Regions from separate parts of the Homo sapiens genome. Here regions 1, 2, 3, 4, 6 and 7 are each linked to region 5. The links are contacts of gene promoters, found by promoter capture Hi-C in blood cells and fetal thymus (Javierre and others, 2016). All regions are on one chromosome and are shown on one strand. The core of a region is centred on a gene start or on the middle of the fragment in contact, and the rest is flanking DNA. Distances in the headings are between cores, read along the strand shown.

Evidence for each region. The method cuts DNA at HindIII sites, captures the fragments that hold promoters and counts their contacts. A CHiCAGO score of 5 or more calls a contact.
Region 1: a fragment that was not itself captured here is called in contact with the fragment with the promoter of FAM120C in region 5 in 3 of 17 cell types (fetal thymus, monocytes and non-activated CD4 T cells); the score reaches 5.8 in fetal thymus.
Region 2: a fragment that was not itself captured here is called in contact with the fragment with the promoter of FAM120C in region 5 in 1 of 17 cell types (total CD8 T cells); the score reaches 5.5 in total CD8 T cells.
Region 3: a contact is called between a fragment that was not itself captured here and the fragment with the promoter of FAM120C in region 5, in 3 of 17 cell types (monocytes, fetal thymus and total B cells). The highest score is 6.8, in monocytes.
Region 4: a contact is called between a fragment that was not itself captured here and the fragment with the promoter of FAM120C in region 5, in 2 of 17 cell types (fetal thymus and naive B cells). The highest score is 6.0, in fetal thymus.
Region 6: a contact is called between a fragment that was not itself captured here and the fragment with the promoter of FAM120C in region 5, in 1 of 17 cell types (fetal thymus). The highest score is 6.6, in fetal thymus.
Region 7: a contact is called between the fragment with the promoter of HSD17B10 here and the fragment with the promoter of FAM120C in region 5, in 8 of 17 cell types (non-activated CD4 T cells, fetal thymus, naive B cells and 5 more). The highest score is 8.3, in non-activated CD4 T cells.

Annotation. Positions count from the first base shown.
Region 1 is chrX:53,220,844-53,224,919 of GRCh38, forward strand. It overlaps KDM5C (lysine demethylase 5C), which reads right to left. Exons shown (of 26, transcript NM_004187.5): 1 at 3,897-4,076; 2 at 1-73. The coding sequence starts at 4,046. Among named protein-coding and RNA genes, the nearest start is that of KDM5C, 2.3 kb to the right of the region's middle. RefSeq lists an enhancer at 3,906-4,005. The HindIII fragment of the contact is 2,841 bases long and covers 1-2,671 here.
Region 2 is chrX:55,163,659-55,167,740 of GRCh38, forward strand. No RefSeq gene overlaps it. Among named protein-coding and RNA genes, the nearest start is that of VCF2, 4.5 kb to the left of the region's middle. The HindIII fragment of the contact is 3,574 bases long and covers 450-4,023 here.
Region 3 is chrX:55,059,944-55,063,711 of GRCh38, forward strand. It overlaps a transcript of PAGE2B not described here. Among named protein-coding and RNA genes, the nearest start is that of PAGE2B, 13 kb to the right of the region's middle. The HindIII fragment of the contact is 1,880 bases long and covers 766-2,645 here.
Region 4 is chrX:54,984,034-54,988,006 of GRCh38, forward strand. The region is part of intron 1 of PFKFB1 (6-phosphofructo-2-kinase/fructose-2,6-biphosphatase 1); the gene reads right to left. Among named protein-coding and RNA genes, the nearest start is that of PFKFB1, 8.2 kb to the right of the region's middle. The HindIII fragment of the contact is 2,160 bases long and covers 599-2,758 here.
Region 5 is chrX:54,180,959-54,184,948 of GRCh38, forward strand. FAM120C (family with sequence similarity 120 member C) reads right to left here and starts at 2,296. Exons shown (of 16, transcript NM_017848.6): 1 at 1,542-2,296. The coding sequence starts at 2,240. RefSeq lists silencers at 1,789-1,838, 1,849-2,058, 2,629-2,728. The HindIII fragment of the contact is 3,156 bases long and covers 673-3,828 here.
Region 6 is chrX:54,922,810-54,925,480 of GRCh38, forward strand. TRO (trophinin) reads left to right here. Exons shown (of 13, transcript NM_001039705.3): 3 at 1-959; 4 at 1,642-1,746; 5 at 1,861-1,924; 6 at 2,180-2,259. Among named protein-coding and RNA genes, the nearest start is that of SNORA11G, 3.2 kb to the right of the region's middle. The HindIII fragment of the contact is 1,962 bases long and covers 335-2,296 here.
Region 7 is chrX:53,432,607-53,436,440 of GRCh38, forward strand. HSD17B10 (hydroxysteroid 17-beta dehydrogenase 10) reads right to left here and starts at 1,764. Exons shown (of 6, transcript NM_004493.3): 1 at 1,713-1,764; 2 at 1,116-1,280. The coding sequence starts at 1,739. The HindIII fragment of the contact is 11,572 bases long and covers 1-3,059 here.

The DNA of each region.
Region 1 (4,076 bases), core at 1-2,500, 960 kb before region 5:
GCTCATTCAGCCTCTGGATTCGGGGGGTAAACCTGAAGTTGTCCACTTCCACAGCAAAGGGTGGCTGCCAGTCCTGAGAGGGTAGAGAGGGGAAAGGGACTTGAGTTATCTCAGCATAGTGTAAGACCGGAAGTCACCAAAAGCAGCTCGGAATCCCACTGGCACCTTCCCAAACCTCTAGCCACTCCAGACCCTTTAACCTGCAAACATCCTACCCAACCACCCACCCCCACCTCCCCCCAGAACTCACAAGAGTCTAGCAGCCCCTCAAGTCTGCACCCAAGGCCCCATGCACATGCCCTAGGAAACTTCTCCTGAGTCCCACCCAACAGTACAGTGCCAGGATTTCAAGAAATTAAGAGATGGAGCCTCTGTTTTGTTGACCCTAAACCTTCTCCACACCCACATTAATTCCTTATCCCCTAGGCACGTGCTGTAGGACACACAGGCCTGGGAGTACTGGAAAGCACACAGGATCTAGAGTCAGAAGATATGGGTTCATGTTCTAGATCCGCTACTTACTAGCTATGAGATTTTAGCTTTCTGAACCTGTTTTCTCATCTGTGAGGTGGGAATATGAACTCTAGCCCTGGCTTCCTTGCCAGACCAATATGGAAAATTAAAACTAGTTTTCAAATGAAAATGTTATTCAAAGGAGTCACCGTTATGACCTGACATCTAAGGCTGACCACACCTCACAATACACATGCAGGGTAGCTCAGGTCCGATTGTGGCAGGACGTAAAGGTTTGGGCCTTTAATGTTTGTTCTCTCAGTTTAAAGGGCCTGAGATAGACACTGCAGGGAAGAGCAAGGAACAGGGAGCAAGTATGTGTATCACTCACCCAGTCTGGAAGGCTTCCTGTAGATCCTCTCTCATACACCTGCCTGGTACAGGAAGAGGCAGGGGAGGAAGCCCCAGGGGGTGGGGGTAAGTGCTGGGATGCCTGACTGTGGTGGCAAAGAATGGGAGGATTTGGGGAGGGAAGTCAGGGAAAGATCATGAAAGTGGGAGACACTCTGCTCTGCCAAGTTGGAGCTTGCTGTGTCCTGCCCAAAGGTCAGCTGTGAAGAACCCCCTCTCCAACACCCCTTTCCAACCTCCTATGCAGACCTCTCCTTCCCAGAGCCCTGGCTCCTGCTGGGGTGGTGAAATCAACCTAAAGTAACCTAAACCAATGTTCTCATTTTATAAATGGGGAAAGTGAGGCTCAGAGAAAAAAAGTGAAATTTCCAAAATTACATGCTGAGTTAGTGGTGGGGCCAAGAACCCACGTCTTCTGACCTCTGATCCAAGGCCTTTGCACTACACCAGACATCAATGTTCATACATACATGCATACACGTGGGCGGGGGGGAGAGACAGTGAAAGAGAAGAAAAACTGTTGACCTCTTCTGCACACACACTTTTAGAAAATGGGCTAGAGGACTCATATTTTGCATGCATACACAGACCACACTCCCCTGCCCCTACCAGCCAAAGCAGGTGGCAAACATCTGGGGCTCAGTAAGCAGGGACAAAAAAAAAAAAAAACAGGCAGGCCAAAATGGTATGGCTCAAATCCAGACAAGCTCCCCATGCCCTCTTGCCTCTCATCAGGATAGGGCACTCCCCTCAGCACAGGTAACCCAGCTAAAAAGGTGCTCAAACCCAAAACTCCGGGCACCCTTCTTTCCTGCTGAATCAAGTTCTAGACAATCAGTGCAACATCAAGCACCTGACAGGAAATGGCAGCCCTGGAATGCTACGGCAGGAGCCATGGATGCAACAGATACCTGGGAAGGCCCTGCAAACCGCCTGCCTTCATCTCCAGACTACTGTATGCCAAATGTATGTTGGTATTACTGGGATGTGGTGATAAAAAAAAGGCTGGCTACCTGATGAAGAAAGCAAGATCCTTCCAAACTCCACTGGGTCTACTCAGGGTACCCACACTCTCCTCCCACCCATCTTTCCCAAGCGTAGCAGTCACCTGCCCAGCAATTCAGGCCCCAAACCATCCTTCCTCCAGCAAACCTCCAATTCCCAGGTACCCACCCATATACAGGTTCCCACCCTGGGCCCAAGCATCACTTGAGCGAGTACTTCAAACTTCAACCAGAAGAAGGCCAGCTGCCTAAAGGTGGCCTAGGAGCTGCCATAGAGAAGGAAAAAACAAAACCAAACCAGAGAGCCAGGTATCCTGGATTAGAGAGAAGCACACTGTTGAGCAGTGAAAAGGACGGCCTCCTGCTGGCCATGCACACCTGGGACATGTCACTCTTCCCCTTCCTGATGCCCCAAAGCAGGGTAACAACACCTACACAAGGCCAGCCTGCCTAAGTCAGTCCAAGATAGAAAAAAGGAATTCAGGCCTCAACTACCCCCTACGTCAGCTATGCCTCTTTTTCCCACAGGCTTGCCCAACCACTTCAGGGAGTGCCTCCTTGAGGCTGCCCAGGACTCCTGCCTCTCCCTTCCACTAGCCTTCCTGACCCTCTACCCACTGCCACTCCCTCACCATGGACAAGGATACCTCAGAAATCTGTGGCCAGACTCCAAGAAGGAAGAAATTCGCTTACCCAACACCTCCTAGAGGATCTATCTGAAACCATCCTAGATCTGTGGCTGAGCACCAGAAAGCACCAAGTTGGATAAGGAGGCCTGTGGTGCCCTCCTCAGGTGGGAATGAAGCTTCCTATTCCATTTCAGCCAGGAGACACCCACTCAAAAACACCCTTTTCCAGCAAAGCTCAATTTCTGCCCTTGGAATCCCAACTGATCACTGAACATTATCATCACTTTTCCACCATATCAGCAAGGCAGCAGCTTGCCCTAGCCCTTGGGAGACTTCTAGCCTGAAGCCAGGCCTAGGAGGAAAGCTATGGCCTTTGTTGCTGACCCCTGGCAATCATGTTCCAAAAGGGACAGAATTCCATGGCTCCATTCTGTTCTGCGGGCCCAAGAGTGCCCTATCCTCTGGGATCTCCTACATCCTGGACCAGAGGAGAGTAGAAATCTTCTGAGAAGGACTCACACCCCACCACCAAGCTGACCGGTCCAAACATCTCCATAGGAAGTCAAGTCTGCGGGATGATGTGCAGAAAAGGCCTTGACATTGCCTTCAACGAGGAAAAGAAGAGGACAATTCCCTGAACCCACCTCAAGGGAGACAGAGCAATCCCTGTGAGACTGATTTCCTGACTGGTCCAGCAGGCCAGGATATTATCATAGATGAATTGGCCTGGCAAGGTATGAGTAAATATGAGTCAACCTACATAGGAATAAACCAATGACCACATCAAACACCCTCACAGTCACAATAATTACCACTTATCTAGTGCGTACTACATACAGACGCTACCTAGTTTAATTCAATCCTCTAAATAACCATTTCTGGGATCCATTTCACGGGCTCAGAGAGATTACTTCTACTTTCCCAAGGTCACACAGCTGCTCAGCTTCAAAGTGGAGTTTTGAACTCAAGTCTGTCTCCCTTCAGGACTGCGATCTTTCTATTAATACTATACTATGCTGCCTGCCTTAAAGGAAGTGATGACAACAGATTGGAGAAACGTCTTATTTTTACAGCCTCGACCTAGGTGGCCCGGGCTAAGAGATGTGCGGGGTGCCTCTCTGTGAACTCCCTCCGGCCCACTAGGAATCCCTGTCTTAAACCCGGAGTGATTCTGAAGGGCCGGGGTGGGGGTGGATCTCTGACTCCAGGTCACCTGTGGGCCTCACACCACGAGAGGACCCCTGGCCCAACACCCTTTTTCCGATCCGCGCCGCAACCACAACGGTCCCAGCCACCCCCTCTCCCCACCTCGAGCTGCCCTCCGCCCCAGACTTCGCCGCTGGCTATCCTACTGCTTCATTCCGTCTCGCCGCCGGCGAAAACCGGCCCCGGGGCTTACCGCGGGTGGGCGGATCTTGCAAATGCCCGATTTCTCTGCGATGGGCCTGATTTTCGCGATGTAGCCAAGAGGGTCTCGGAACTCGGCCCAGCTAGGCTCGAACACCGGGCACTCCGGTGGCGGTAGGAAATCGTCGGACCCCGGCTCCATGGTGGGCCCGAGGTCTGGGCCAGGGATCGG
Region 2 (4,082 bases), core at 987-3,486, 980 kb after region 5:
GAAAATTAGGTATTTCTAGCCTCTAGATGTTTTTACTGAACAGACCCAGACTTAGGAGTGTCGTGATATCCCAATATCTTGAGAACAGAAGCATTCCTAATTTTGCTTTAAAGATCATAATATCAATTCTTGCAAGATATAGTAATTAAGAAAATTAATCCTTTATCACAAACCCTTGTAGCAGAGCACATCTCCCCATAATCTTTTTTATCCTGTATATAAACGAGTATTGTACCTAGGGTGGATGCATTCCTTTTCTTACTTTTGGGAATATCCTACTCTGTCTGTAGAGTAGCTGTACTTTCACCACTTTACTTTCTTAATAAATTTGCTTTTGCTTTGCACTGTGGACTCACCTTGAATTCTTTCTTGGGCGAGATCCAGGAACCCTCTCTTGGGATCTGGATCGGGACCCCTTTCTGGTAACAGCTTCTGGGGAGGCCTCAGGAAGCTTTTGCTCATGGTAAAAGGTGAAGCAGGAGCAAGCACTTCACGTGGCAAAAGCAGGAGCAAGAGAGAGAGAGAGTTGGAGGAGGGGAGGGAGGCGCCACACACTTTTAAATGACCAGATCTCATGATTATTATGTAATGTCCGATTTTGTCCCTTGTAATAATCTCCACTATAAAGAGTGCTTTGTGAGGTATTAATTTGACACCTTGAGTTTTTATGTGGTTCATGTTTGCAGGGTATATCTTCTTCCATCCTTTACTTGTAACTTGTTTATTTTTAAAGTGAGGTTCTCTTTTTCCCAAGATACAGATTAGCGATAAATATATTGTGAAAATCAAGATCTTCTTGCAGCCGTGAAACGGTAACAGTAAAAACACCAAAAAATCAGATGTAGAAGTTAATATGGAACTGAAGTGTTATGCAGAAATCCACAGAATAATTTGTTAGGTTCCTCAAAAGAACCTCAATCAAATTTACTGACAGCCTTTATAGAAAGATAACTTGAAACTAAAGTGATACATTTATATGAAAAATATTACTTTATCACCCCATTTTCTGCAGTAGGCTTTTAGATGAAATTTCATTTCACAAAAGTGTTCTGTTGCTAAAAATATTTTGAAAATGGCTGTATAGGATAATGTTTCAGAGGTCTCTCAGCTTAGAAATTTTGGGATTCAAATATCCTTCTCTACATTGAATGGAAAAAGTGAAAAGAGAACAATATCATGGGGGAGGGAAATGTTGGTCTACTGTATTTTTCTTTTCTTTTTCTTCCTAAACTAACCGGTCTGTGTTGGTTCTCAGCTGTGCTGTTAATCCAGGTAAAAGATGCCCTTCAGGAGAATACATGGATTCATTGGGCCCCAGGGAAGTTTTGAATTGCTCAGAAACAACAGCCAGAATAACTTTTGAAAGGCTGTAAATGGAGATGATTGAGATCTTCTGATATGGTTTGGTGGTGTCCCCACCCTGTGGAAGGGACTCGGTGGGAGGTGATTGAATCATGGGGGCAGGTCTTTCCCATGCTGTTCTCACGATAGAGAGTGGGTCTCACAAGATCTGATGGTTCTATAAGGGGGAGTTTCCCTGTACAACCTCCCTCCCTTTGTCTGTTGCCATCCGTGTAAGACGTGACTTGCTCCTCCTTGCCTTCCACCATGATTGTGAGGCCTCCCCAGCCATGTGGAACTGTGAGTTCTCCATTAAACCTCTTTTTGTTTTTTTTCTTTTTTGTAAATTTCCCAGTCTCAGGTTTGTCTTTATCAGCATCATGAGAACAGACTAATACATCCTCTGATTTATGTTACTTCTCACTCAAGTTGCTCAAAGTGCCTTCTCATCAAGAGCTGTTTGGGTAGAGACAGACACATTTGTTCAGCCCTATTTTTCTCTGTTTTCTTCTCCTCCTTCCTTCCTCTTTCCCTCCCTCCCTCCCTCCCTTCCTTCTTCCTTTCTTCCTTCTTTGTACAAAAAATAAGTGAATTTATTTCTTCTCAGTAGAAATATCAGAATATTTCATAAATTTTGTGAGTTTTTTTGAAACTTTTATTTTGGGTTGAGGAGTACATGTGCAGGTTTGTAATACAGGTAAATGCGTGTCACAGGGTTTTGTTGTACAGATAATTTTGACACTCAGGTATTAAGCCTAGCGTCCATCAGTTATTTTTCCATATCCTCTCCCTCCTCCTACCCTCCACCCTCTGATGGGCCCCAGTGTGTTGGTCCTTGCTATGTGTCCATGTGTTCTGATCATTTAGCTCCCACTTATAAGTGAGTAAATGTGGCATTTGGTTTTCTGTTCCTACATTAGTTTGCTAATGATAATCACCTCCAACTCCATCCATGTTGCTGCAAAGGTCATGATGTCTCTCTTTTTCTTATAGACGCATAGTATTCCATGGTGTATATGTACCACATTGTCTTTATCCAGTCTACTATTGACAGGCATTTAGGTTGATTCTGTCTTTTTTATTGTGAATAGTGCTTCAATGAACATACTTGTGCATGTGTCTTTATATACCTAGTAATGGGATTCTGGGTCAAATGGCAGTTCTGCTTTTAGCTTTTTGAGGAATTGCCACACTCCTTTCCACAGTGGCTGAAATAATTTACACTTCCACCAATAGTGTATAAGCATTGCCTTTTCTCCATAAACTCACCAGCATCTGTTATTTTTGTTCTTGATTTTTTTATTTAGCCTTATACTGTTTGACTATTTTTTTATTTGAGACAGGGTCTCATCTGTCTGTGAACGTGGATTCTACTTATGTCAGAGACTTCTAGGGATTCCAGCTCTCTCAGCTGCCTACGTTTGAACTTTATGAATTTATTACATTTCAGTTGTTTCCTTCTTACCCACTTTTATGACTGTCACTTCTTGCACACATGTTCTGCCAGAGGTAACACAGTTTGTGTGTGTCATCTCTCCTCAGAGGGGCTTGTCATCCTCTTGTATCAGTTCCCATGGCTGCCTTATTACCTCAGCTCTCTCATGATCTAAAAAAAAATGATAATATAGGTTATTAGGCTTTTTCTCATTTTCAGGGCTAAAGTGACTTTCTCTTGAGCCTTTCTAAATATTATGTGGAGGTAGAGCTCTCCTTTGTTAATATTTTGACTACTGGTACAAAAATGCAGCATTCAAATATTTGAATTAAAAGATAATCCAGGGGATAGCTGACTATGGCTTGGTAGCTAAATCCAGCCCATGGCTCATTTTTGCATAGCCTTTAAGATAAGGACTTTTTTTTTTTTACATTTTAAACTCTTATTTTTAAAAAACACAACAATATGCCACATAATCTATGTGGCCCACAAAGACTAAAATATTTATTGCCAAGCCTGTTAAAGAAAAATTCATGACCCTGTATTAATCTAATATCTACCATTCTGCATCACATTAAGAAATACATTTTCATCCATTATTTAATTTATTTACTCGCAGATTGAAAAGTGTGGATTATTTTCTGATCTTACCCTATCCCCTTAAGAAAGCATCCAGCTTTACCAAACCATGTTTTCAGTCTGAGAAACTTGTCCCAGGGCTTAAATGATACAGAAACATATATCTGAGGTAGGAGACTGGCAGGACTTGTTTCTGGTCATAACCCTGCTGACTAAAACAGAATCTGATTCAGACAGAATAAAGTGGATAAACTGGCAGAAACCAGCAGATGGCCACAAGGGTGATCCCTGGTTGCCCTTATTGCTTATTAGCATGAGACACTCCCACCAGCACCATCGCAGTTTACAAATGCCATGGCAATGACCTGGAAGTTACAACAGCTTCCCATGGCAATGGCCTGGAAGTTACCCCCTTTCATAGAAAGTTCTAAATATCTCGCCCCTCAACTTGCATTAACCTGCCCTTAATGTACATATAATTGAAAGTGGGTATAAGTCAATAGAAATGCGTTTGCAAAGACCCCATAAGTTGGTGACTCTGAGTGTAGTGCCTATGAGTTAGCCCTGCTCTGCAAGGAGGAGTTCCATTCAATAAAAGATTGCTGTCTGACACTACCAGCTCACACTTGAAATCTCTCCTGGGCAAAGCCAAGAGCCCTCTCAGGCTAAGCTTCAATTTTGGGGCTGGCCTATCCTGCATCAGTTTCAAAGGGAGAATTTTTCCAAG
Region 3 (3,768 bases), core at 456-2,955, 880 kb after region 5:
AGGATTTTCTTCCTTCTTAAAGCTGAATAGTATTCCATTGTGTGTGCCCGTCTCTGTGTGTGTATACTCCACATTTTCCCTATCTATTGATTCATTGATGGACACTTAGGCTGATTCCATATCTTGGCTATTGTGAATAATACTGCAATGAACATGGAAGTGCAGGTATGTCTTTGACATAGTGACTTTACTTCCTTTGGGTATATAGCTAAAAGTGAAATGGCTGAATCATACAATAACTCTATTTTTAATTTTTTGAGGAATCTCCTTACCGTTTTTCATAATAGCTGAACTGGTTTACATTCCCACTAATAGTGCTCAATATCCCCCCAACACTTGTTATCTTTTGTTTTTTAATGATGGTAGATATTCTAATGGGTGTGAGGTGATATATCATTGTGGCTTTAATTTGTGTTTCTCTGATGATTAGTGATATTGAGCACATTTTTATGTAACTGTCAGCAATTTGGATGTCTCCTTTGGAAAAATATCTATTCAGGTCCTTTGCCCATTTTTAAATCAGGTTATTTATTTTCTTGCTATTGAGTTGTCTGATTTCCTTATATATTTTGGATATTAACCCGTTATCAGATATGTAGTTTGCAAATATTTTCTCTCATTGTGCAGGTTGCATCTTCACTCGATTGTTTCTTTTTCCATGCAAAAGCTTTTTACTTTGATGCAATCCATTTGTCTATTTTTGCTTTTGTTGCCTATGCTTTTGGGGTAATATCCCAAAAATCTTTGCCAGGACAGATGCTAATAAGCTTTCCTCTATGTTTTCTTTCAGTACTTTTACAGTTTTAGGTCTTATATTTAAGTCATTAATCCATTTTGAGTTGATCTCTGGTTTTTTTTGTGTGTATTTTTTTTGTTTTAGTAAATTATATTTTCAGTAAGTTTTCAATAACCAAATTGAAAAGTGTGTCTATTTATTCCTGACTAGGCTAAGACATGTAGAAATATATCACTACTGTTCAACTGTTGGGAGTAGGGAGGCAATGAACACAAGGAAACTCAGACAGAAAAAGAAATGTAAATTAACATCTCAAAATATTATATTATTACTTTAAAATTATTTAGTAAATCACATGGTCTTCTTATTTGAAAGAGAGGAACTGTGGGATGGTAAGGGTGTACAGAGGGTAGCTGCTAGTGAAAGTCCAGTGGGCTCCAAATATTCTATAAAATCACAATATAATGTATAAGAGAAAGAAGAATAAAGGAATGAGCTACTTTATTTTCATATGATTTCTTTTAAAATAGTGATTTGTAACACCTGTTTCTCTTTTCTTATTCTTTGCAACTTCTATTTCAGGTTCAAGGGGTACATTTGTAGGTTTGTTACATGGGTAAGTTATGCGTCGTAGGGGTTGGCGTACAGATAATTTTGTCACCCAGGTAATCAGCATAGTACCTGATAGGTAGTTTTTCAATCCTCACCCTCCTCCTGCTCTCTACTCTCAAACAGACCCTAGTGTCCATTGTTCTTTTTAAATATTTTTTATTTTTAATTTTGTGAGTATATAGTAGGTATATGTATTTGTGGGTTACATGAGATATTTCGTTACAGGCATGCAAAGTGTAATAATCACATCAGGGTAAATGGGGTATCCATCACTTCAAGCATTTATCCTTTGTGTTACAAACAATCTAATTATACTCTTTTAGTTATTTTAAAATGTATGATTAAATTATTATTGACTGTAGTCACCCTGTTGTGCTAGCAAATATTAGGTCTTATTCATTCTTTCTAACTATATTTTTGCGCCCATTAACCATCCCCAGTTCCCTGCCACTTCACCACTACACTTCTTAGCCTCTGGTTACCACCCTTCTACTCTATCTCCATGAGTTCAATTATTTTAATTTTTAGCTGTCACAAATAAGTGAGACCATGTGAAGTTTGTCTTTCTGTAACTGGCTTATTTCACTTAACATAATGACCTCCAGTTCCATCCATGTTGCTGCAAATGACTGGATCTCATTCGTTTTATGGCTGAATAGTACTCCATTGTGTATAAGTACCACGTTTTCCTTATCCATTCATATGTTGATGGACACTTAGGTTGCTTCCAAATCTTGGATATTGAGAATAGTGCTGCTGTAAACATGGGAATGCACATATCTCTTCGTTATCCTGATTTTCTTTCTTTTGGGTATATACCTGGGAATAGGATTGTTGGATCGTATGGTAGCTCTATTTTTAGTTTTCTTGAGGAACCTCCAAACTGTTCTCCATAATGGTTGTACTAATTTACATAGCCACCAACAGTGCAGGGGAGTTCCCTTTTCTCCACATCCTCACTAGCATTTATCATTGCCTGACTTTCAGGTAAAAGCCATTTTAACTGGGTTGAGAAGATATCTCATTGTAGCTTTAATATGCATTTCTCTGATGATCAATTATATTGAGCATCTTTTCATATACCTGTTTGCTATTTGTATGTCTTCTTTTGAGAAATGTCCATTCAGGTCTTTTGCCCATTTTTAAATGAGACGATTAGATTTATTTCCTATAGAGTTCTTTGAGCTCCTTATGTATTCTGATTATTAATTCCTTGTCAGATGGGTAAGTTGCAAATGTTTGTCCCATTATGTGGGTTGCCGCTTCACTTTGTTGATTGTTTCCTTTGCTGTGCAGAAGCTTTTAAACTTGATGTAATTCAATTTGTCCATTTTTGCTTTGGTTGCCTGTGCTTGTGGGATATTGCTCACGAAATCTTTGTGCAGTCCAGTGTCCTAGAGAGGTTCCCCAATGTTTTCCTTTGGTGGTTTCATAGTCTGAGGTCTTATAATTTAAGTCTTTAATACATTTTGATTTGATTTTTGTATATGGTGAGAGATAGGGGTGTAGTTTCATTCTTTTGCATGTGGATATCCAGTTTTCACAGCACTATGTATTAAAGAGACTGTCCTTTCACTAGTGTATGTTCTTGAGAACTTAGTCAAAAGTGAGTTTGCTGTAGATGTGTGAATTTATCTCTGGGTTTTCTATACTGTTCCATTGGTCTGTGTGTCTGTTTTTATGCCAGTACTGTGTTGTTTTGGTTACTATAGCTCTGTAGTGTAATTTAAAGTCAGGTAATATGATTCTTCCATGTTTGTTCTTTTTGCTCAGTATAGCTTTGGCTATTCTGTGTCTTTTGTGGTTCCATATAAATTTTAGAGTTTTTTTCTATTTATATGAAGAATATCATTGGTATTTTGATAGGGATTGCATCAAATCTGTAGATTGTTTTGGGTAGTATGGACATTTAAAAATATTGATTTTCCCAATCCATTAACATTTAATTTCTTGCATCAATGTTTTATAGTTTTTATTGTAGAGATCTTTTACTTCTTTGGTTAAGCAAATTCCTAGTATTGTATTTTGTGTATATTGTAAATGGGATTACTTTTTAAAATTTCTTTTTCTGATTGTTCGCTGTTAGCATATAGAAATGCTACTGATTTTTGTATGTTGATTTTGTATCCTGAAATTTTCCTGAATTTGTTTATCAGTTTATTAGTTTTCTCGTGGAGCCTTTAGGTTTTTCCAAACATAAAATCACATCTCTGCAAACAAGGATGATTCGACTCCTTCCTTCCCCTTTTAGAGGTCCTTTATTTCTCTCTTGTCTGATTGCTCTAGGTAGGACTTCCAGTACTATGTTGAATAACAGTGGTGAAAATGAGAATCCTTGTTCCAGTTCTTAGAGGAAAGGATTTCAGTTTTTCCCCATTCAATATGATACTAGCTATGGACCTGTTGTATATAGTTTTATT
Region 4 (3,973 bases), core at 429-2,928, 800 kb after region 5:
GTTTAAGTTCAACTTGATAAGAAACTTCTATAAAGCAAACAAAAACTATCACCAACATTATACTTAAAAGTGAAAGACTAAATGCTTTCCCCCTAACATCAGGACTAATGTAAGGATTTCCACCTTCTCCACTCTTTTGACATAGTACTAGAAGTTCTAACCACTGCAATAAGGCAATAAAAGGAAATAAAAGGCATACGGTTTGGAAAATAATTTTTAAAAAATCCCTATTTGCAAATGTCATGATTGTCTACATAGAAATATCCCCCTAAACTACAGAAATTCCTCGAACTAACAAGTGAGTTCATCAAGGCTGCAAGATACAAGATCAACACACAAAGACAATCTTGAGACTTTCATTTCTGGCATGACAGCATGAGGAGCTCTAAAGACCCATTCTCTAATAAAACAAGCTCAGCTGGCAAAATTACAACACAACAACCTTTTAAAATCTCTGGAAATTGTCTTAATGGAATACAGTACATGAAGATATTTTTATTCAAGAAAATCTACTGAAATGTGGTAAGAACACAGTCTTTGATACATGTGCCATGCTACTGTTCCCGACCTTACTACTGTCCCCTCACTACTGGCTCCAAGCTTAGCTTGATAGAAGCTCCACTTAAGGTGTGTATAGCCAAGATGAAGCTCCCTTTCGTCTTGGAGAGAATGTCCCATCAATACTTTGGCATCTTACTGGAAGGAGCAGAGAGCTAGCATTTAGCATTCCCTTCAGCTCAGAATTGCAGAGGCTAAATTCCTGGCAAGTGTGGTTAAGAGGTTGGAGGATCCCTTCCTCCTCCCAGTTTTTACTCATAGAATGGAGGCTATATACCAGGTGCAATAGGCTAAGAATACTGAGGTCCTGATTACCCTCATTCCATCTTGCTCACAGGGTAGGTTCCACACCAGGATAGGCAAACTAAGACCAGAAGCTGCTGTCTCGCCCAGCACCCAGAACAGTGCTCAGACAGTATACCCATGGAGAGAAGAAATTCATAAGATGAGAGAGCTCTGAAACTCTCCCCCCAAAACTAACTTTATTTTTAACATAGTACAAAGAAGCTCAAGCCCAAGGATGTTCTCAAAAACTACAAGTTCACTTAACTAACAGCAACATAGGCCAGCTTGTTCATCAGAGAGAACAAGAGAGAGAGGGACAGGTAAGAAGAGCCCTTCTGGGGTATGAAGAAACCTCCAAGACTTACTTCACAAACTACTCCTGCTAGAGTTTAATTAGATAAGGCTGCTGGGCAATGCATGCTTCAGGACACTGCCAAACAAACAAACAAACAAAAAACAAAAACAAAATACAGCATTCAGCTAGTAATTAGTGGAGCCTAGAGTGTAATACCCCCATGTGGGCTGACAGCTTAATAGAGAGACTGGGAAAAAGTCAAAGAAAGCCCAAATTACCTGCAAGCCAAAAACTATGCACTCCAAGAAGCAACACTGAAGGGTTCACACTGCAGGGAAACATACTTTAAAAATAGCCTAGCCAAGTCACAAAGCAAAGAGTTATATAGAAATAAGGAAATGATACCAGAAGGTAATTCAAACCCACAGGAACAAATGAAAATAATAGAAAATAATAAATACATACATGTTCTCCTTAATTTTCTCAGCTTCCTTAAAACATAAAATTATATAAAATAATACTTATAATGATGTATTATTTAGTTTTTAGCATATACAGATATAATATATATATTATAATAGCTCAAAAAGGAAGGTGAAAGAGAGCTATATATGAGTAAAATTTTTATATCTCATTGAAATTAAATTAGTACAAATCTGAAGCACACTGATGTATGATGTATGTGAAAAGCCCTAGAACAACCACGAAGAATATACCTAAAAAATATATAATAAAAAATGATCAAATGAATTAAAAAGTTAAACTAGAATAATTCATTTAATGCAAAAGAAAGCAGTAAAGGAAGAATAGAGAGAAAAAGACATGAGCTCTATGGAAAAATAAAACTGCATATTTAAACCAACTATATCAATAATGATTTTAAATCAGAACAGATTAATCAACCCAATCAAAAGGTAGAGAATATCTAACTGAATACAAACAAACAAGATCCAACTGCATGCTGCCTACAGAAGATAGGTTTTAGACTGAAAGATACAAGGCAGGCCTGGTGGCTCACGCCTATAATCCGAGCACTTTGGGAAACCAAGGTGGGAGGATCCCTTGAGTCCAGAAGTTTGAGACCAGCCTGGGCAACATAGTGAGACTCCATCTCTATTCTAAAAAAGAAAGAAGAAAAAAGAGAAAGAAGCAAATAGATTAAAAGTAAAATAACGTAAGTAATACATCATGCAAACAACAACCACAAGAAATTTGGAGTGACCATACTAATATGAGACAAAATGGATGTTCAAAAACATTACTAGAGATATATAGGGACATTCAATAATGACAAAAGGGTCAATCCATAATGAATATATCACAAGTATAAACGTATATGCCTAAACAACAGAGCTGCCAAATACATGAAGCAAAACTGGCAGAATTGAAGGGAGAAATAGACAATCCACTGACAATAGTTGGAAACTTCAAGACCACTCTTTCAATAATGGATAGAACAACTACATAGAAGATCAACAACAGGGAAATAGAGGACTTCAACACAAAGTAGTAATAACAAACATCTGTAAAACACTCCATCTCCAAACAGCAGACTATACATTTTTCCAAAGTGTACATCAAACATGCTCCAAGAGAGACAATATTCTAGGCCATAAAAGAAGCTTCAATAAATTTGGAAGAATGGAAATCATATAAAGTATGTTCTCCAATCATAATGGAGTAAAATAAAAAATTAATAACAGAGAGAACTTTGGGAAATTCACAAATATGGGAACCTAAAGGAAACAGAAGAAGGATATAATAAGGATTAGAGGTGAAAATAATAAAACAGAGACTAGGAAAACATTAGAAAAAAATCAACAAAATCAAAAGTTGGTTATTTGAAAAAATTAATAAACTTGACAAACCTTTAGTGAGACTGACCAAGAAAAAAAAGAGAAAACTCAAATTAATAAATTCAGGAAAAAAAGAGGAGACATTACTACTGACTTTATGAAAATAAAAAGAATTATAAGGGAATATTATGAACAATCATAAACTGTATGCCAACACAATAAATGCCTTAGGTGAAATAGATAAATTATTAGAATGATACAAACTCTCAAAACTGACTAAAAAAGAAATGAAATCTAAATAGATCTATAACAAGGGGTTGAATAAGTAATGAAAAACCTTGCCAGAAAGAAAAGTCCAGGATTAGATGGTTTCACTGGTGAATTCTACAAACATTTAAAGAATAATACGATTCTTCAAAAGCTCTTTCAAAAAGTAGAAGAGGAAGAAGCACTTCCCAACTCATTCTATGAGGCCAGTATTTCCGTGCTACCAAAGTTAGGCACATATATTAGAAGAAAAGAAAATTATAGACCAATAGCTGTTGTGAATATGGATGTAAAAATCCCCACAAAACACTAGCAAACTGAACCCAGGAATGTATAAAAGGATTTATATGTATACATTATATATATGTATATATTATACTTATACTTTTTACATCACAATCAAGTTAGATTTATTATAGGAATGCAAGCTTGATTTAACCTTTGAAAATCAATTAATGCAACAGATCACATCAATAGAATTAAGGACAAAAAAACCAAATGATCATCATAATAGGCACAGATAAAGCATTTGGGAAATTAAATACCCCTTCATGATAAAACCAACAACAAATTAAAACTAGAAGGAAAGGCCCTAAACCTAATAAAAGACACCAATGAAAAACCCACAGTGAATATCACACTTAATGGTGAAAGATTGAATAGTTTCTCCCATGCCGCCTGCCAAGATCAGTAACAACAGAAGGATGTCTGTTTTCATCTCATCTTTTCAACATTCTAGTAGAGGTTATAGCCAAGGTAATTAGGTAAGAAA
Region 5 (3,990 bases), core at 1,046-3,545:
GAATGGCCATGAATAAAGAATCTACCTTAAAATGTTCAGTCAGAAGAGCAAGCAAATGTGTGCCTTTTTTTTTTTTTTTAACCTTGTATGAGATAGCTCACGTTTGGATTAGTTTAAATTAAAACAACTATAATCTAGGCACTCTAGGCACAGATTTGATGCTGAGAACGAGTCTAGCATGACTGGACTCTAGCCACAAGCTCTATAACCACTGCAAGCTTCTCTGTTTAGGTCTTTTAGTCTCTGAGCTAAAATTTCTTTCCTCCTCATTACTCCAGCCGACACCACTTCTTAAGTGATTCCCACAATCCCCTGTTCTGTCTAACTGTAAGGACAACCCCCAAGAACCTTGGTTGGGGAAATAGGTTTGCGGTTTCTTTCTACCCAACCCTGTACTACTTTTCTTTTTCTTCTTCCTGCCCACCTCCTTTACTTCCCAAGCCTTGCTATTCTCTACACGTAGGAACTTGAAACCTAAGAGTATGGGAAAGCAACAGAGCAGCAGCAGTGGTGCCAAGAACTGGGGATGCTGCCAAGCTGTTCCCCAGGCCCCATATGCAGTGACCCAACTACATGCAGATTGGACTTAACTGCCTATGGGGCCTTGCACACTTAATATTCCTTTTTGCTTCTGCTCATTTTCTTCCTCCCACTTAAAGCAGCCTCCTCCCAAGCTTGTGACTCATTCAAATCCAATCCACCTTTGAAGACCCAGGTGAGGTCCGACTTCTTCAGGGAAGCCTCCCCTGACCACTTTAGTCCAAAGATATCCCACCACTCCCACATACAGAAAACAGGAACTGTACTTACTGTCTGGACCATAAGGCATAATCACATACACATTGCTATAATTAAATGTTTCATGTGTATACATTTAACTTTCCAAGGGCATGAGCAGTGTCTCACATGTCTTTAAAACCCTTACACTCAGTGAGTTAATACTTGCTGAACAGTGACTGAATCAGTGGGTTTTTATGTGTTTAGGCTAAGGCAGGAGGAAGAAGATGCATGTTGAAATGAAAAAGGCTGAATGGACACAGATGGGTAAAAAAGCAGCAGTGGGTGAAGACGGAAAAACAATGTAGAAGAAAGGTGTTCAGTTCACACCTGCTTAAGTGATTTACTGCGAGGTTGGAAAGAGATACAGGAGAGAGATGTCAACTGGCAAAAGCAGGGTAAAGGCATTTCAGTTTGAGGCAGAAGACACCAGGAGAAAGATGAGGCTACAAAAGAAATTCTGACTAGATTCTGCTGAAACCTAGTGGTAGGCCAATTGGATAAGGGAAGCTAAAGGGAGCTACTGGGATGACATGAGTAGAGATATGGCCATGTAGGTGAGTGAATCCGTAGGGGGTGGTATGAAGGGGGAGGTAAATGGATAAAATGGTAGAGGGTAGTTAGGCAGGTAGGTTAGCTGTTGGGCGGGTAGGTGGGTGGGTAGATGGGAGGTAGGGTAGTGGGTAAGTGGGTAGGTGGTTAGGTATTTAGTTGGGAGGGAATAGGTGTGGGGCTTATTATTTAAGATCCGGCCCCTCCCTCACCTTGACCCGGAAGCGGATGAGTGCTAGCCTCACGCAGTGGCTCAGGCAGGCCGGTGGCAGGAACCAGGCCCGCGGTGGAGGGGTGCCCTTGTTGCCCACGTGTCCCACGATCAGTTGCGCTGTCTGCCGCTCGGCCTGGCACCGACGGCCCCACTCGGCCAGCCGGTCCTTGCCCAGGCCCCCCGGGAACATGACCACGAGCTCCAGGCCGTCGCCGCCAGGATAGGCACAAGCCTGGCACAGCGCTGACAAGTAGCCCAGCATGGCGTTCCATTGGCCGCCACACACCCAATCCGTCTGGTAGCCGCCATAGAGCCGCGGCAGCGCCGAGCCGGCGTCCACCAGCACCCGGGCCCCGGGCAGCTGAGGGGGCGGCGGCGGCGGCAGCGGAGGGTGCAGCCCGGGCTGCGCTTGGCCATGATGGTGGAAGTGGTGAGCGGGGTGATGGTGCCGAGTCGGCCCCGCGCCCCCGGAGTAGGCACCCAAGGCAGCGGGCGGAAGCGGCGGTTGCAGAGGCACGGAGCCCCTGGCGGCGCGTGGAGCCCCGGGCGCTAGGGCTGCAGTCGGCGGCAGCTGGCGGTGCAAGTGCTGCTGCTGCTGCTGGCGCGAGACCGTGCGCGCGAGTTTTAGGAGGTCCACGGGCACCACGGCCCCGGGACAGCGCTTCTCCAGGAACTCTTGGAAGCCCTGGACACCCATGCTTCGTCGGTGGGCAGACGCGATAGCGGCTGCGCAAGCAGGATAGGCGACGATCTGGGCGCGAAGCTGGGGGCGGGCGCGTGCGCACTCCGCGGGGGGCGAGGGGGGGCGGGAAAAGGATTCCCGAGGGGAGGGGTGAGGAAGCGAGGGAATGAGGGCGGGGAGGGGAGGAGACCACAAATTGGATTTGGGTAGAGAGAAGGGGAGGGGCAGACCGGACCCGGGAGAGGCTGGGAGGATAAAAGCGAGGATGGGCTCTAGTCACTTCTCTTTTTTCTCCTTTCCGGCCGCTCTTCTTCCCGCTTTAGAAGGGGTGAAGCCTCTTTCTTCCACCTCCGGGAGCCATGTTGCCTCGTCTTCTCGGTGGTACACGCTTTCTAGCTGGAGGAAGGGGAGCGAGGAGGGGCGGGGCGGGGCGGGGAGAGGGGCATCTTGGTAGTTGTAGTCTTCTCTATGGCCTTAGGATATAGTCGAGGAACCAGACTACCACCCTTCTCAGCCCTTGTGCTCACAGGGTCACAGGAAGCGGGGCGTGATGATGAGTGTTTAGGAGTTGCACTCCAACTCCTTGCATCTCACTGAGTTGCTTAGGTTATTTACTGCTTTTTCCTGGAAAAAGAGTTTTGGGGGATGGATTGATGCATCATGGGAATGGAAGTTAGAGTGGATTGACTGAATTCAGCTAAAGTGAGCTAAAACTCCCCAGGAGGGAGGATTTTCCCCTTAGTGGAAAGATAATATTTAAAGAGCTGTTGGTCCCAATTAAGAAAGACGTAACTGGTCGGGCGCGGTGGCTCACGCCTGTAATCCCTCCGAGGCGGGCAGATCACGAGGTTAGGAGATCGAGACCATCCTGGCCAACATGGTGAAACCCCGTCTCTACTAAAAATACAAAAAGTAGCCGGGCGTGGTGGCACGTGCCTGTAATCCCAGCTACTGGGGAAGCTGAGGCAGGAGAATCGCTTGAACCTGGGAGGCGGAGGTTGCAGTGAGCCAAAATCATGTCACCGTACTCCAGCCTGGTGACAGAGCCAGACTCCGTCTCAAAAATAAATAAATAAATAAAAAGAAACTTACATTATTTACTTGCCTAAGGCAATGCAGAGACAAAGTTAAATCGAATATCCTTGCCCTCAGCATCTCTTTGGGCAGGGAGATAATTACCAACACAAATTACATTACAAATTGTACCTTTTTGGTACTCCTAGATCCACTATGTCCTATGGTTAGGGCCTTTGGTTTCCAAACTTCATTGTGTTTTAGTCTGTCGGGAGCTTTTCTAAATAGCTGCAAGGGCTCTAATTTCAGATGTATGGAGTCATAATCTTTTGAAAAATGTATTTTCAACATACTGAGATGAAACAGATGCAGTGCCTGTCTTCTTTCTGGCTTTTAGGGCCGGCCCACTCTTTCAGCAGGAATAAAGCAGAAAACAAGATCTGAAATGAGTAGTAGCCAGATCTGGCTTGGAACTTACTGGAAGATGGGAGATAATGGCAGGCAGAGTTAGAATGCAGAAGTGCAGAACCCAAGAGTGATCGGGATGAATGAGATAGGGGAATACTCTATTAGGATGCAAAAGCAAAAAAGCTTCAAGCTACATAAAAGAAATTATAAAATAGTGGAGATGGAACAAGCCAGATTGTCAAAGAATAAGTAGATGGCAAGGCAGTGTACATAGTTAACTCTTGAAAGCAAGCAGTGAAAGGAGAGAGCAGTGGCTTGAAGGGATGAAGGATGGAAGGAATGG
Region 6 (2,671 bases), core at 66-2,565, 740 kb after region 5:
ATGAGATTGCCACCAACAAGCCCAAAATAACTTGGCAGGCTTTAAACCTGCCAGTCATTACCCAGATCAGCCAGGCTTTACCTACCACTGAGGTAACCAATACTCAGGCTTCTTCAGTCACTGCTCAGCCTAAGAAAGCCAACAAGATGAAGAGAGTTACTGCCAAGGCAGCCCAAGGCTCCCAATCCCCAACTGGCCATGAGGGTGGCACTATACAGCTGAAGTCACCCTTGCAGGTCCTAAAGCTACCAGTCATCTCACAGAATATTCACGCTCCAATTGCCAATGAGTCAGCCAGTTCCCAAGCCTTGATAACCTCTATCAAGCCTAAGAAAGCTTCCAAGGCTAAGAAGGCTGCAAATAAGGCCATAGCTAGTGCCACCGAGGTCTCGCTGGCTGCAACTGCCACCCATACAGCTACCACCCAAGGCCAAATTACCAATGAGACAGCCAGTATCCACACCACAGCAGCCTCCATCCGAACCAAGAAAGCCTCCAAAGCCAGGAAGACAATTGCTAAGGTCATAAATACTGACACTGAGCATATAGAGGCTCTAAATGTCACTGACGCAGCTACCAGGCAGATTGAGGCCTCAGTAGTGGCTATCAGGCCCAAAAAATCCAAGGGCAAGAAGGCTGCCAGCAGGGGCCCAAATTCTGTCTCTGAGATCTCTGAGGCCCCACTTGCCACTCAGATAGTCACAAACCAAGCCCTGGCAGCCACCCTGCGGGTCAAGAGAGGGTCTAGGGCTCGGAAGGCTGCCACTAAGGCTCGGGCAACTGAAAGCCAGACTCCAAATGCTGACCAAGGGGCCCAGGCCAAGATAGCCTCTGCTCAGACCAACGTAAGTGCCCTTGAGACTCAGGTTGCTGCTGCTGTCCAGGCCCTGGCAGATGACTATCTGGCTCAGTTGAGCCTGGAGCCCACAACCAGGACCCGGGGCAAAAGAAACCGAAAGGTGAGATCTCTGACATTGCCATCCTTAACTTTGTGCTTCTTTTCCATTTCTACCCTTCTAGTTTGTTCATTTCTTCTATAAAAGTTTTACTTTGAGCTAGTCCCTGTGTTCAGATAGGCTGTGGAAGATGCTGAGAAGAAGGTGATATAGTTTCTGCTCCCTAGCAGTTCACAGATTGGTGAGGAAATAAGACATCCATACACTCAGCTACAACCTGTATGTAATACTACTTGTATTTAAATAGTAGTTACCACGTGCCAGGCTTTGTGTTGGGTACAGTTACACAGGGTATGTCTGAATGTCTTGAAAGTAACTCTTACCAACAAGGGATCATAGGTCCCAGTTTTACACTTAAGAAAACTGAGTCTCAGAGAAATGAAGTGACTTGTCCAAGAGGTACCAGCCAGCATAATTGGTGGTAGCCAGAGGAAGAGAAAGACCCTTAGGCTCTTATCTTGAGTTGTTCCTGGCCTGGCAGAGGAACGAAACTCCTTCCTGGAAGACAGTGAAAGATAAGCTCAGGACTCAGGGTGGCCAATGGCAAGGTCAGGATCAGGCTCCACTACAGCAAGGCTGAGGGAGGGGGTTAGAGGGACTTTCTGTCTGGAGCAGGCAAGGTGAGGAGACAGAGCCATCTCTTTCACCTGGTGACTCTGGACCTTCCTTCTTTCTGATGATGAAGTCCAAGCATCTGAATGGGGATGAGAGAAGTGGCAGTAATTACAGGCGGATCCCATGGGGCCGGAGGCCTGCACCACCGCGAGATGTGGCCATTTTACAAGAAAGGGTAAGAATCCAATGCTGTCCAGTCTCTTCTCTTCTTCACTTGCCCTCTTCTCTGCCTCCTTCCAAGTTTTCTGCAAGCATGTTAAGATCTCTCCATCTATTCCTCTCCTCCCAGGCTAATAAGTTGGTGAAATACCTGTTGGTTAAGGACCAGACAAAGATCCCCATCAAACGCTCAGGTAGTGTCCTACCAACCCTCCTCCTTGAGCTCTCCTCTCCACTCCCCTCTCCTCCCATAGTCTGGGAGTAACACTTTATGGCCTCTTTGTTCTGTCATATCTCCACACCTGCCCTCCTTGCACTCTGCCATGGCTGGCATCTCCCATTAACTCACTTCAGGTCTCTGATTGCACTGACCCAACAGGACTGGCAAAAGGGCTGCAGCTCTGTGGCCCCTGCTAAGCTCAGCTACTCTCACCTCTCCTTTTCTACAGACATGCTGAGGGATGTCATCCAAGAATATGATGAATATTTCCCAGAAATCATTGAACGAGCAAGCTACACTCTGGAGAAGGTGAAGGGGCAGTGCTGGCGGATGGGCGCAATGGGGAAGCTTTGAATCGAGCAAAGACATACATGTCCCTTTTGGAGAGAATCACAGAAACATGCTAATCCAGCCCCATTACTGTGTGAATGGGCAGACAGTGGCCTAGGGAGAGGTGTAGATTTGCCATGGGTCACACAGCATGTCAGTGATGAAAACATGGCTAGGACAGAAGCCACTCAAATTAGTCTCAGCTTCTATTCATAGTTGGACATATTCTGCATGTATTTCAGATCTCACCTCTCCCTTGTATCCCCATTTTCTGTCTCCCTAGATTCCTGCTCATCACAAAGATGATGTTGATGACAATAGTACATTTGCTGTGTGTTTACTGGGTGCCAGGCACTTGGCTATGTGCTTTATGTGCATTATCTCACTGACT
Region 7 (3,834 bases), core at 514-3,013, 750 kb before region 5:
TGGGAGGCCGAGGCTGGTGGATCACTTAAGATCAGGAGTTTGAGACCAGCCTGGCCAACGTGGTGAAAACCCGTCTCTACTAAAAATACAAAATTAGCCGGCATAGTGACACATGCCTGTAATCCCAGCTACTTGGAAGGCTGAGGCAGAAGAATCGCTTGAACCCGGGAGGCAGAGGTTGCAGTGAGCTGAGATCGTGCCATTGCACTGCAGCCTGGGCAACAGTGAGACTCTGTCCCAAAAAAAAAAATTGAGAGAGTAGGTCAAAGGTGAAAATATTAGGTAATATAGAGCAGTGTTGCAAAAACATTTTTCAAATCAATACCTTCTTGATAAATTCACATGCTCCTGAAGATTCTTAATTGCTGTGGATCAGAGCACTAATGCAACCCTGTTGTGAGGCTGGGTGCAGTGGCTCACACCTGTAATCCCAGCACTTTGGGAGGCCGAGGCGGGCGGATCACGTGAGATCAGGAGTTCAAGACCAGCCCGGCCAACATGGTGAAACCCCATCTCTTCTAAAAATACAAAAAAAAAAATTAGCTGGGCGTGGTGGCAGGTGCCTGTAATCCCAGCTACTTGGGAGGTTGAGGCAGGAAAATCGCTTGAACCCAGAAGATGGAGGTTGCAAGGAGCTGAGATTGTGCCACTGCACTCCAGCCTGGGCAACAGAGCGAGACTCCATCTCAAAAATAAAAATAAAAAATAACCCTCTTGTGAGAATTATTGATAGGAAGATAAACTAGCTTTTTTGTATCCTTACCTGCTAAGATGATTTCATCAAGTTTCACTTTCTGTAGTTTGTTTCATGAAAACAAGTTTTTTGACTTTGTAAATATAAAATTACAAGGCACAAAATGCATTTTCAAACCATACATAACTCCTCCAGGAGATTGTTACGTCCAATCCCCATCCTCATTGTTGTGAATCCCAGCTTTAGAGAATCCTTATCACAGGTGGTCCCACAGTGCTTGAAGGCTCAGGCCAAAAGAGACAAGGAGATGGGTCTACCGCCCCCATAGAGGAGACCCTTATGGGAGGGACCCCCACAGGTTCCCAGGCCGGTGTTGGTGACCTCATGCACACCCTGGGAGAGGAGAGGTGACCCCACTTACGTCGGCTGGGGCGAAAACGCAGTTGTTTCCTAACTTCTTGGCTTGGGCCTCCCCACCCGAGTTGGGCAGGTCCAGAAGCACAGCAGAGGCTCCCTGCCCCACAAGTCGCTCCGCCGTGGCCAGGCCCAGGCCCGAGGCTCCTCCGGTTATTACCGCCACCAGGCCCTGTCAAAAGGGACATGGTCAGGGTCAGCTGTTACATTGCCCAGACCATCCCCACGCTGTCGCCTGCCTGTTCTCCAGGCTTCTGAGGAGAAGGGGGGAGGGGAGAGGTCGTGGTCACCCCTGCGGGTAAACTAGGTGTGCTGCTTCTCCTCAGCGTTGGGACCTCGGGGGCAGAAGGGATCTCATCCCCAGACAGCCCGTCCCGTGACGATAGATAGATAGATGATTGATAGATAGATAGATAGACAGACAGACAGACAGACAGATGCGCCGCGGAGTGCTGACTTTCACCTCTTGAGCCCAACGGCCACAATACCAGGCCTACATAAGCATGACCCTTTCCCTCGAAACCGATCTCTTTCTCCTAGTTCCACGGCCGCGCTGTCCCGGCCCGTAAAGGAAGGCAAGCAACAGAGGCAAAGAACCTTCTACCTTCACGCTCCGACACGCTGCTGCCATCTTGTCGCCGGCCACTCCACGGGATGGGGATGGGGGCGCGGGCGCTCGTTGATTGGCCGAGGCGAAGCGGCGGAAGGGGCGGATGCGACGGGCCGGGGCGTCTGCCGCTGCCGCATGAGACGTGGGGGCGTGGCCTGGTACGCTAGTCCTTTGGCCAGAGGGCGGATTCCGCCTGCTAAGGTATCCCCAGAGTTATTTCAACTGGGGAAAGAGACCAATAGCAGAAGTACAATACCACAACACCCCTCGCCCTACTCTCTAGCTGGCCTTTTGGCAAGTGGCCTGCTCCGCGTGGGGGAAGAGGGGTGGATATTGAGAACGGATGCCTTTCTCCTCTGAAAAAGTCTTAATTCAAGTATGAATGTATTTGAGACTCCTATATGCTAGACGGTGTGCGGGGCACCTGGGATACCCAGCGGAATAATAAAAGATTCATGCCTTCCAGGAGGGCACAGTCCAGGTGGAGAAAGAGAATTACAGTACAGACACAGACGAATGGACGGAACCAGATTCTGGGACACTCAGACAAGGAGATCCAAAGATGAGGAGTCTGAGTTAGAGAGAGAGAGAGCCATGTAAAGAGAAATATGTTGAGGCCGAGATAGGAAGAGAGATGCCAGGTAGGATCACAGAGAGATGAATGTGGAAAGCCGCTAAGAGAGATGCTTGGAGACAGACATTCTAGGACAGCTGCTGAGAAGCACAAACCTAAAGAGGCAAAAACATCTTTCATCAGTTCAGGCTTTGCTACTCTCCTCTATCTTTGTCTAATTTAAGTCCAAAAGCCCAGATCACACACTGCAGATTGGACTTCAACCAGAGACTATTATTTAAGACCCAGGTCTTTGTCATCCTAGAACATCTTTCAGGCAGCTTCCAGAAGCTATGTCATTAGAGTCTTGAGCCCAGATATCTAATCTGTCTTCCTTCTATACTTTTCCTCAAACCAAGGTCTTCAGGCCATAAATCTTAGCCCACCATTTCAGCCTCAGAACTGCTTTATGTTTTCTCTATCTGAAATATCTCCCCCCACTTGCTTTCTCACCCAGGAAGATTCCCCTCCAGGCCTTCTAGTTGTTGACAGCCACCACACTCATAATCACTACACCGTATTTACCAAAGGATTTAGCACACCGGTCTCACAATTTTCCTATCTACATGAAGTGCTTCCATCAATTTATAGCACTCTTCATCCGGCCCAATATGCTGTAGCCACAGTGGCCTCCTTTGTGTTCATCTTTGCATTAGCTGCTCCCTCTGCTTGGAATGCTCTCCCCTGATCTTTGCATGACTGCTTTTATTTTTTTTCATTCAGAACTAAGCTTAAATATCACCTTCCCAGAGGGGTCCTCCCTAAATATTCAAACTGTAGCCACCTAGACACTATCCCATTGCATATTTGAATTATCTTCATAGCACTTGCATGTCCGTAATCCATTTTCCAACCTTAGGGCCAGATGTGCTGTGGAATTCAGAGTTTTTTTCAATTTGAGAAAGGAAGACATGTAATTTATATTACATAACTCTTTAAAAAAACTAGTCAAACATAACTTTTTGTATAGTCTATATTATATAACTATTGAGAAAAGCCTGGAGCATCGTAATGAAATATTAATATTTCTGAAGTGAAAGGTATGAAAATTCACACCAAGTGTGAATAAAGACTATAAATAGCCTCACACTACTTCAGGTCAGGTTTTGTCATCTATTGAGTTTGGGCTCCAAAGTATGAAAAAACAACCTTATGCTTTTCAGAAGTTTTGGCATTGCAGGATTGTGCCTACAGGCTTGTGAGCCTGCATGCTCCGCTAACCTGGCCTTGTTTGTGTAGTTCTCCCCCTGCTGGAAGGTAAGCCCCATGGCACCAGGGGCTTGTCCAGCTGGTTCACCTAATGCCGAGAACACTGCTTGGCGTGTACAAGACACTTAAAACAAATGTGTGAAATAAATGAATTAATGAATTAATCTTGGAAGAATTTCCAGGCACAGTTTCATGATTCTTTCACCTGCCCAACTCCGGGAACCTTCACCTCCTCTCTACTTTAACCACCTGTCCAGGCCACCTTATTGCACTTGTCATTCCCTGGAATAACCT